Regions from separate parts of the Homo sapiens genome. Here region 2 is linked to region 1. Evidence: promoter capture Hi-C in human tissues and cell types (Jung and others, 2019). All regions are on one chromosome and are shown on one strand. The core of a region is centred on a gene start or on the middle of the fragment in contact, and the rest is flanking DNA. Distances in the headings are between cores, read along the strand shown. Region 1 holds the start of APOBEC1 (apolipoprotein B mRNA editing enzyme catalytic subunit 1). Region 2 overlaps DPPA3 (developmental pluripotency associated 3).

Region 1 (5,541 bases), core at 1,854-4,353:
ACCTTGACTTGTTCAAGGAAGAGCAAGCAAGTCAGCTTGGCTGGGTCGGAGTGATCAAGACCTGCAATGGAGGGAGATGAGCAATGGAGGGGGTAAGCCACAGGGCCTTACCAGCTCTGGATAGTATGCTAAGTGTAAGAAGCCATTAGAGAGTATGGGGATGATTCAAGGGAGAGTACTGAATTTTAGAGACCTGCGCCTCTCAGGACTCAGAGGCTTGGGGATGTTCCTGGCAATAAAATGGGCGCTGACAAGGCCTGAACCTCTAAGGGTGATTTGGGGAGATGCAGGCAAGAAATTCATCCCACGCTCCTGGCCAAACCTTAACTCGCAGGTGCTATTTTTGAACAGAGAAGAGTCACAGGCTCTGGAAGACACTTCCTTTAAAACAGAGCATGCTTTACCCTAGGCTGTGTGTGTACCTGTTTGTGTGTGTTACTTTTTATGCATTTGCACTGGATGGTAGAGGAGTTGTAGAAAGGACTTGGGCATGGCATGGTTTTTTTGCAGAGAGTGGTTCTAGCTGGGGAGAAGAACTAAAATGAGAAATTAGCCAGATATCTAGGAAATAGGACGAAGTCAGGAAACACTATTCCAAGTGTGACCTGAAGAACAAATCTCTTACTTTTAAAGGAGGAATGGGGGATTTGAGCATTGGGAGGAAGGAGGAAGGGGGTGGCTGGCACGTTGGAATGAGCTCTTCTCAGATCTTAGTGCAAATTGGGGCCCTTGAACCAGTAATCTACTCCGAGGGAGCCTTACATAAACAGAGGCCACATCATAGGAAAAAGGCATTTGATGATGGGAAGACACTTTCTCTGAAAGAGCTGAAGCAGCAGTGAGAAGTTCAGAAAGGGACGGTGAGACATATGCTGTGTCTACACTGATCAATATTATTCCTGGGATGCAAAGACAAGGATACCAGCCACATGACTGGGGACAGTTTGAGGTATAGAACACACCACCTTCATAAGAAAAGTCCAGGGAAGGTATTAGCTACTACAATCAAATAATGTGTTTGGTCTTTCCCCCAGTATGCCACTTAAAAAAGAATTTTTTTTTTTTTCCCGAGATGGAGTTTTGCTCTTGTTGCCCAGGCTGGAGTGCAATGGCGCGATCTCGGCTCACTGCAACCTCCGCCTCCCTGGTTCAAGTGATTCTCCTGCCTTGGCCTCCCAAGTAGCGGGATTACAGGCATGTGCTACCGTGCCCAGCTAATTTTGTATTTTTAATAGAGACGTTGTTTCTCCATGTTGGTCAGGCTGGTCTCAAACTCCCTACCTCAGGTGATCCGCCTGCCTTGACCTCCCAAAGTGCTGGGATTACAGGTGTGAGCCATCACACCTGACCTTAAAAAAGAATTCTAACAGATGAAGAACATAAAGGAGAAAATAAATTGTTACTTCAACTCCAAACTGATATCTATATTACCTTCTGCCCCATCACACTCACACTATTGCAATAGTCTTCTAACTGGTCTCCTTGCTTCCAGTCCAAAACCCATCACATGTCAAGTAAATGTGTCTAAAGCACTATTTTAGTCATATCTCTGTGCTATTCATAAATTCTCCAAAGATATTCCCTCTACCATAAAGAAAAACTTTCATTCCTTGAGCCTGGCATTCGAAGTCCTCTATAGTATAATAACACTTCAAATTTGCTTTCTGGTCTTACTGCAAATTGTTTACATAAATTTTTTGTAGCCTAACCAGTTTATTCATTATATTCCAGACACAAGTCTCTATAAAAGCTTTTAAATTCTGTTCATCAATAGGATTCAATCAACCTGGAATCTCCTCTTCTTTGTCGATCCAAAGTCTGCCCTTCTGGCCTGGCATGGTGGCTTACACCTGTAATCCCAGTACTTTGGGAGGCCGAGGCTAGTGGATCACTTGAGCCCAGGAGTTCAAGACCAGCCTGAGCAATAAAGCAAGACCTCATCTCTACAAAAAAATTAGCAGGGCTGGTGGCCCATGCCTGTTGTCCCAGCTACCCAGGAAGGTGAGGCGGGAGGATCTCTTGAGCCCAGGAGGTCAAGACAGCAGTGAGCAGTGATCACACCACTGTACTCCAGCCTAGGCAACAGGGCGAGTCTTAAAAAAAAAAAAAAAAAAATTTGGTTAGGCATGGTGGCTCATGCCTGTATTCCTAGTACTTTGAGAGACCAAGGGTGGAGAATTGCTTGAGCCCAGGAGTTCCAGACCAGCCTGGGCGAAGTAGTGAACCCACCCGCTAGTCTCTAAAAACAAAATAAGATAAAAATTTTTTTAGGTCTACACTTCTCTTAGAATCCAGCTCAAATCCTAGCTCAGCTGAAATTACTTCCTTCAGCCTGAAGTGTTCTTCCTCTCCCATGCATTTTTCTAACACTGACTGTGCACAAATTTATCAATTAGTTATAGTCAATTCATTTGTCAATTAGCACATTGTTCTCATGCTATCACGTCTGTTGTTACCTTAAACTGTTATTTAAACAGTTGTACTTTTACTTAACTTTTTTTTTATTTTTGTGAGACAGAGTCTTGCTCTGTTGCCCAGGCTGGAGTGCAGTGGCGTGATCTCAGGTCACTGCAACCTCCGCCTCCTGTGTTCAAGTGATCCTCCTGCCTCAGCCTCCCGAGTAGCTGGGACTACAGGCATGCGCCACCATGCCTGGCTAATTTTTGTATTTTTAGTACAGATAGGGTTTCACCATGTTGGCCAGGCTGGTCTCAAACCCTGGGCCTCAAGTGATCCACCCTCCTTGGACTCCCAAAGTGCTGGGATTACAGGTGTGAGCCACAGCGCCTGGCTACTTAATTTTTTATCATGGTGAAACAAACACTGATTTGGTTAAAGTCACTTGGAGATGTAAATATTTACTAATAATAAACCATCTTATTTAAGACTAATATATTAATCAATAATAGGGAAGTTTGAAAACACCCACAGATGCAAGAATCAGCAGGACACACACACACACACACACACACACACACACACACACACACACACACACACACCATTCTTGCATTGTTCAAGAATACTTGCCAAGCCCCCGGATCCATTTTACCTTTCTCAGAAGTCATGGTGCTCTGTCTCTGGACTTCCTCCTCTGGAGTCATAAGTTGTGCTGATTGTTCCTGGACTTTGTTGCTTCAGGTGTGCCCACTGCCACCTGCTTGGGCAGAGGATGACTCATTCCCGCATCTCAGGCAGTTATGGGAATCTGAGCTGTCTGTACAAACAGGGGGCCGACTGAGAGGGACATTATCGTGGGGATTTGCATCTTTAGTGATGAGAAAGCCTATGATGCAAATGACATGAATTTTGTAGGGTGGATCACTGGGTACCAAATTCCAAAGTTCTTCAATGACATCTGAATTTGGTAAACTTTCTCTTTCTTTAAATAAAGATTAAGGCAAGGTGGATCCATCATTCTTTTTTGTTTTGTTTTGTTTTATTTATTTATTTTTCATTATCTCCTACTCTGCATCAAGGATGCATCATTCTTTTTTTTTTTCTTTGAGACGGAGTTTTGCTCTTGTCGCCCAGGCTGGAGTGCAATGGCACAATCTTGGCTCACTGCAACCTCTGCCTCCCAGGTTCAAGCGATTCCCCTGCCTCAGCCTCCCGAGTAGCTGGGATTACAGGCGCCCAACACCACGCCCGGCTAATTTTTTGTATTTTTAGTAGAGACGGGGTTTCACCATGTTGGTCAGGCTGTTTTTGAACTCTTGACCTCAGGTGATCCACCCGCCTCGTCCTCCCAAAGTGCTGGGATTACAGGCATGAGCCACCGTGCCTAGCCTAGGATGCATCATTCTTTAATGGAGAGATGAGAGGAAAAATAAAGTTAAGAGAGACTTAATCTGTAACTATAGCTTGAAAATTTTTATGTTATCTGGTGAGCACACTGTGGCCTTGGCTTTCAGCTGTTATTCACCTATTTCCAACTTCCTCTCATTTTGCTCTCTGTCCTACATCCGTGTTGGAGAGGGGAGGGGAGCTATTAGATACAAAATGAGAAGGACCTTGGCCTCTGAGTCAGCTAATTTGTGTACAGGTCTTTGGTGCTCTCTTCATCCTTGAATCTAAGATTAAGTGTGTGGCCAAGTCCACTTCTGCCCTTTTTTTTTTTTTTTGAGACAGAGTTTCGCTCTTGTCACCCAGGCTGAAGTGCAATGGCGCGATCTCGGCTCACTGCAACCTCTGCCTCCCAGGTTCAAGTGATTCTCCTGCCTCAGCCTCCCAAGTAGCAGGGATTACAGGCACCCACCACCACACCAGGCTAATTTTTATATTTTTAGTAGAGACAGGGTTTCTCCATGTTGGCCAGGCTGGTCTCAAACTCCTGACCTCAGGTGATCCACCCGCCTCAGCTTCCCAAAATGCTAGGATTACAGGCGTGAGCCACCTCTCCCAGCCACTTCTGCTTTTTTATCCCCCTTGAAAAAGTAAATGCCATACTTCCCTATGCCATTGCTCTCTGTTGCCTGAACCCTGGGTCAAGTTCAAGCCAAAAATTCCTCTGAGTCTCAGCACTTACTCCTAGAATTGAGGTCACTTTTTCAAGGCCTAAGTCTCCCTCTAGTGTCTCAAATCTAGAACTCCTGAACTTTGAATCTCAAGGCCCCATGAACCTGAAACCCGAATCCTACATACAAGACTTTACTTAGTTATGAAAGTCAACCTGGAGCCTCCATGAGATAAAGCAGGTGTTTCGACAGGGGCAGACCAGTGTTTTGAAGAAGGGGCAGAAATCCCACATCATCAATAAAGGCCCTTCAGAGACCAAGTTTTTCTAAGTTAGGTAAGAGTAGAATCATTGTAGAATAAAAGTAGGTTAGGCCAGGCGCAGTGGCTCGCGCCTGTAATCCCAGCACTATGAGAGGCAGAGATGGGAGGATCACCTGAGGTCAGGAGTTCAAGACCACCCTGGCCAACATGGCAAAACCCAGTCTCCTAAAAATATAAAAGTCAGCTGGGTGTGGTGGCAGGTGACTGTAATCCCAGCTTCTCGGAAGGCTGAGGCATGAGAATTGCTCGAACCCAGGAGGGAAGTTTGCAGTTAGCCGAGATCTCACCATTGCACTGCAGCCTGGGCAACAGAGTGAGACTACGTCTAAAAAAAAAAAGAAAAAAAAAAAAAGGTAAGATAATAGCCATCAACGATATCCATGTCCTGATCCCTGGAATCTGTTAAACATATGAACTTAAGTGCCAAAAGGGTCTTTGTCGTTAATTAAAAATCTTGAGATGAGAAGACAATCCTGGATTATGCAGGTGGGCACAGTCTAATCACAGGGTCCTTATAAGAGGGAGGTAGAAGAGTCAGAGTCAGGATGCGAAATGGAGATATGAGGATGAGAGCAGAATTCTGCTTGCTGGCTCAAAGGGAGCCACGATTCAAGGAATGAGGAAAGCCTGTAGAAGCTGGAAAAGGCAAGGAATGGATTCTCCCCCAGAGCCTCCAGAAGAAATGCTACCCTGATGACACCTTGATGTCAGCTTAGTGAGACCTGTTTTGTACTTCAGACCTCCAGAACTATAAAACAATGT
Region 2 (5,940 bases), core at 3,124-5,623, 54 kb after region 1:
TAAGACTCCCTAGCTCTAGGCCCGGTGCGGTGGCTGAGGCCTGTAATCTGAGCACTTCGGGAGGCTGAGGCAGGTGGATCACCTGAGGACAGGAGTTCGAAACCAGCCTGGCCAACATGGTGAAACCCTGTCTCTACTAAAAATACAAAAAGTTAGCTGGGCCTGGTGGTGGGCACCTGCAATCTCAGCTACTTGGGAGGCTGAGGCTAGAGAATTGCTTGAACCCTGGAGGCGGAGGTTGCAGTGTGCCGAGATTGTGCCATTGCCCTCCAGCCTGGGCAACAAGAACAAAACAAGCGTCTCAAAAAAAGACTCCCAGCTCACGTCTGTAATCCCTGCACTTTGGAAGGCTGAGGTGGGAGGATCACCTGAGCTCAAGGAGTTCCAGACCAGCCTAGGCAATATAAAAAATTAATAAAATCAGCCATCTCTACAAAAAATTAATTAGCTGGGTGTAGTGGTGCGTGCCTGTAAGTCCCAGCTGCTGTGGGGTGGGTGGCTGAGGGCTGAGGCAGCTGGATCACTTGAGCCTGGGGGGTTAAGGCTGCAGTGAGCCATGATTGCTCCACTGCAATCCAGCCTGGGCAACAGAGAAAGACCCTGTCTCAACAAATTCCCTAGCTTCTCTCCCTTATATAGATGTGTAATATTAGTAATCTTTTTCTTGATAGTTTTCAATAAACATATTTTTTTCCCATGAAGCATGAAAGAAGACCAACAAACAAGGAGCCTAAGGGAGTTAAGGTAAGTATAATTTTTTTCTTTTTATTTTCCTTTTTTTTTTTTGGCTATATATGTGGATGGGTATCTGGTTTGTTTCCTTTTGCCGGAATAGGGAATTAGGGAATTTGCTTGGACTTTCTGAATCCCCAGGGACTCTGGATAAGTCAGTTCATGTTTGTAGTTTTTAAAAATATATTCTTTATTCTTTATTTTTCAGAGAAGTTTTATGTTCATAGCCTTTCCCCCACACCCCACACATGCCGCCTCTACTGTCAACGTCACACACCAGAATTGCACACTTTGCAGCTGATGAACTTACCCTGACAGGATTATCATCCAGAGTTCATAGTTTACACTAGGGGTCACTCTTGGTGTTAGGTTGATACTTTCACGTGCTGTCACAAATATCTTCACGGTAGCACTGTATAGTAAGAGGACAAACACTTCAGCAGAGTGTCTAGTAGCAGAATGAGTTACATTTAAGGCATTCAGAGAACGGAGACTAGAATGTTTTATTGACAGTCTGCACTTGTTACCATTACAAAATGACCCACAAGCTGCCATTCTGTGGTACCCATATTTTGATCTTTTTTTCTCCTAAAATGTTTTGCTTTTGGCCCGTGTGTCCTTTTTTGTGTGTGTTCCCTGTTCCAACACTTACCAAAATAAACAACATTATAGTTGAGGGCTTATTACATTTCTCTGGGGTACAATATTCCAATTAATCCATTTCATCATTTTTTTTCAGAAGGAATCAAGACCATTCAAATGTCCCTGCAGTTTCTGCGTGTCTAATGGATGGGATCCTTCTGAGAATGCTAGAATAGGGAATCAAGACACCAAGCCACTTCAGCCATAAATCTTATTCTTGCACCTTTTTTTCTTGGTAGTAATTTTATATAGCAGGTTGAGAAAGCTACTCTATGCTAGTATAGACTATACACCAATAATTTTGATAATGAGTTCTAGGATGTATTTTTCTTGTATCTTTTTCTTCCTACTATGATACTAGTAATTCATAAGGGATCTGTGTAATCTGAATGTATTTGAATAACTTTAGCTCTACTGTTTGATTTGACCCAAAGAAGCCAAGATGATATAAGTATTCCCATGTGTCTTAGAAGCCCAAAGTCAGTGAGATGAAACCCAACATCAAGAAATTGAAGCAAAGTTACTTATGGATAAAGAAAGCATTAGGTAGTTGGGCTATAGCATAATTAGATTTTCTGGCTTTCAAAAATTTGGATTGCAATCACAGCAAACTTTGTTATTTTTACAGTTTTCAGTACAAAAGTGTTTATATAGAAACAATAAAGTTGACATTTGAGTACCTTTTAAAAATTGTTCTTGATTTTATTCTTTTTCTTACTAACAATTAGATGAACAATAGTTTTATTACATTTCTAGAATGTAAATATCTGGCATTCTAATATTTTATATCTTCCCACTGGGAAGAAACTTCATTGTACATTTGGGTGAGATTGGAAAACACAGGCACAGATAGTTGCAAATATCAACTTCCCATTAGAGATGTGAAAATTGGAAGGAGGTAGAACAGAAGTGGAGCTTACTACGTTGTTGATAGGAAATATGCAGGGGTCCTCACACCAGGCAAGCAATTCTTTTTTGTTTGTTTGGTTTTCTGAGACAGTTTCGCTCTTGTAGCCCAGGCTGGAGTGTGATGGCACTATCTCAGCTCACTGCAACCTCCGCCTCCTGAGTTCAAGCGATTCTCTTGCCTCAGCCTCCTGAGTAGCTGGGATTACAAGCACCTGCCACCACGCCTGGCTAATTTGTGTATTTTTAGTAGAGACAGGGTTTCACCATACTGGCCAGGCTGGTCTGGAACTCCTGACTTCAGATGATCTGCCTGCCTTGGCTTCCCAAAGTGCTGGGATTACAGGTGTAAGCCACGGCACCTGGCCTCCAAGCAAGCAATTCTGCCATAGATATCAGCTGGGTGTCTAATTCAATTCCAGCACTGTCTACCTGGAAATAGCTCCAGATCTTACAGGTTGAAGGCTCAGTCCCACAAGACTGCCTGCACTTCTAATGCTAATCACAAGCTTCAGGTTGTCTTACCTGTGCTTTTGACTGACCAGCTACAAATCAGGGTTCCCTCGACCCCTTGCTTGAGTTTGATTAATTTGCTCTAGTGGCTCATAGAACTCAGGGAAACACCTTACTTATTGTGAAGGATATTACAAAGGATACAGATGAATAACCAGATGGAAGAGATGCATAGGGCGAGGTATAGGAGAAAAGACAAGCAGGGTGAACCACCCTTAAGGAGTGTGAAACTGTCCAGGAGCCCTCAGAACTCCTTTTGTGTTTTTAGGGAAGCTTCATTAGGTAGGCATGATTGATTACATCACTGGCCATTGGTTTATCAACTCAACCTTCAGCCCCTGTCCCTTCCCCTGGAGGTCCCGGAATGGGAGTGAAACTTTCAACCCTCCAATCACTTGGTGGTTTCTCCTGGCAACCTGCCCACATCCTGAGGGTATCTTGGAGCCCCCAGCAAAGCAGTCACCATTAGCATACAAAAGTTATCACTCCAGAGATTTTGAAGATTTTAGGAGCTATATGACAGGAAATGGTGACTAAGAACAAATATGTTTTATAATATCACAGGGAGAATTGGAAAGGATATCTGCATGATATGTAATAACCCAAGAAGATGCTATCCAGTGATTTCTTTGTGGTTTTTGTTTTGTTTTTTGAGATGGGGTCTCACTTTGTTGCCCAGGCTGGAGTGCAGGACCACACTGCCAAGTTTGGTCATCAGAAGTTACCCCACTGAAGAACTAAATTTAACATGGTCTACCAGCAAGGACAAATGTGGGGCAGATTGAGCATTGGTTATATTTCTTTTTTTTTTTTTTTTTTTTTTTTTTTGAGATGGAGTTTCACTCTTGTTGCCCAGGCCGGAGGGCAGTGGCGCAATATCAGCTCACTGCAACCTCTGCCTCCCATATTCAAGCAATTCTCCTGCCTCAGCTTCCTGAGTAGCTGGGATTACAGGCATGTGCCACCACACCCAGATAATTTTGTATTTTTTAGTACAGATAGGGTCTAACCATGTTGGTGGTATCGAACTCCTGACCTCAGATGATCTACCCACTTCAGCCTCCCAAAGTGCTGGGATTACAGGCATGAGCCACTGTGCCCGGCAGAGCATTTGTTATAACTTACAAATCGTTCCTAGTAGCAAAGCTAACTTTTATTATTTTTCTGTATGAGCTTGAAAATCACTGACTAGTTAAAAAAGGCAACTTATTTTTATTGCAATCATGTTAAATTTGTAAATTAATGAAAACATTAATTCTACATGTCACATGTCCTTTCGTATTCTTTTGAGATGCAGTCTCGCTCTGTCACCAATGCTGAAGTGCAGTGGTGCCATCTCTGCTCACTGCAACCTCCACCTCCCAGGTTCAAGCGATCCTCCTGCCTCAGACTCCCAAGTAGCTGGGACTACAGGCGTGTGCCACCACGCCCAGCTAATTTTTGTATTTTTAGTAGAGACAGGGTTTCACCATGTTAGCCAGACTGGTCTCGAACTCCTGACCTCAGGCAATCTGCCTGCCTTGGCCTCCCAAAGTACTGGGATTATAGGCATGAGACACCGCGCCTGGCTAGTATTTAGGTATATTTTTAAACCTTTCTATAATAATATCTTCCTTTCATGTATTTCCTGCTGAGAGCATCAGTTCAAGTTGCCCTGAATCTTTATGCTCCCAGTTTACATTTATTGAGTGCTAGGCATTATTCTAAGGATTTTACGTGCATTAGCTTATTTAAACCTCAAAACTTCTGAGATAGGTCACTTTCGGTGTCTTCATTTTACAGAAAAAAAAAAGCACAAAAGTAGTGAACTTGCTCAAAGTTACATAAGAAGTGGCTTATCCGAGATGGAAGTCAGCTAAGCCAAGTCGGTACTTTCTTCTTTTTTTTTTTTTGAGATGGAGTTTTGCTCTTGTAGCCCAGGCTGTAATGCAATGGTGCAATCTCGGCTCACTGCAACCTCCGCCTCTTGGGTTCAAGCAATTCTCCTGACCTCTCCCCGTGTCGGCTTCCCAAAGTGCTGGGATTACAGGCGTAAGCCACTGCGCCTGGCCCAAGTCGTACTTTCTACAGATATCTTCCTCTTCAGATTATATTATGGTGTGTTAAAATATTGCCATTACATTTTTCAACTGGTTGTAATATATGAAAGTTGTTTTTTTTCTATATTTACTTATTTGAGCCAGGGTCTCTCTCAGTTGCCCAGGCTGGGAGTGTAGTGAGGCTTGGCTCACTGCAAACTCCACCTCCCGGGCTGAAGCAATCCTCCCACCTCAGCCTTCTGAGTAGCTAGAACTACAGGCATGAGCCACAATGCCCGGCTAATTTTTTGTATTGTTTGAGGAGACAGAGTTTCACCGTGTTGCCCAGGCTAACGCTGTTAATTTCTCTATTTGCTGTTCACTCAACATTTTTTGTTTTACTTTAAACTTTTTTTAAAAAAATTTCAAACTACATAAAGTTGCAAGCTTAAGCTCATAAACCTGTGTGTACATTTTACCTAGATACAACAATTGTTAGCATTAGCCACATTTCATTTAACATTCTATATTTTCTCTTTTTAAACAGATATTTGAGAGTAAATTTCAGATAACACTTCATCCCAAAATAGTTTGTGTTTTCTTAGAACAAGAATATTGACTTATATAACCACAGTAGAAGGATAAAATTCAAGAAATTTATGGCCAGATGTGGTGACTCATGCCTATAATCTCAGCACTTTTGGTGGCTGAGCCCAGAGATTTGCTTGAGGCCAAGAGTTCGAGACTAGCCTGGCAACATAGTGAGATCCTAGTCTCTACAAACAAAAAATAAATTAGTCAGGTGTAGTGTTGGGGGCCGGGGGGAAGATGTGGAAGGGATAGGAAGCGGGAAAGGGGTAGGAAGGGATAGGAAGGGAGGAAATGGGCTAGAGGACCCCAGGGGTTCAAAAGGCAACTTATTTATTTATTTATTTATTTATTTTGAGGCAGAGTTTCGCTCTTGTAGCCCAGGCTGTAGTGCAATGGTGCAATCTCGGCTCGCTGCAACCTCCGCCTCCTGGGTTCAAGCAATTCTCCTGCCTCAGCCTCCCGAGTAGCTGGGATTACAGGTGCCTGCCACCTCGCCTAGCTAATTTTTGTATTTTTAGTAGAGACGGGGTTTCACCAC

What was found. The method cuts DNA at HindIII sites, captures the fragments that hold promoters and counts their contacts. A contact is called where the count stands out against the background at its distance.
Region 2: a fragment that was not itself captured here is called in contact with the fragment with the promoter of APOBEC1 in region 1 in 2 of the 25 tissues and cell types used here (pancreas and spleen).

The regions. Positions count from the first base shown.
Region 1 is chr12:7,662,805-7,668,345 of GRCh38, forward strand. It overlaps APOBEC1 (apolipoprotein B mRNA editing enzyme catalytic subunit 1), which reads right to left and starts at 3,104. Exons shown (of 5, transcript NM_001644.5): 1 at 3,053-3,104. The coding sequence starts at 3,068. RefSeq lists an enhancer at 3,809-4,103. The HindIII fragment of the contact is 14,417 bases long and covers 1-5,541 here.
Region 2 is chr12:7,715,496-7,721,435 of GRCh38, forward strand. DPPA3 (developmental pluripotency associated 3) reads left to right here. Exons shown (of 4, transcript NM_199286.4): 3 at 703-744; 4 at 1,472-2,064. The coding sequence ends at 1,582. Among named protein-coding and RNA genes, the nearest start is that of DPPA3, 7.0 kb to the left of the region's middle. The HindIII fragment of the contact is 6,179 bases long and covers 1,285-5,940 here.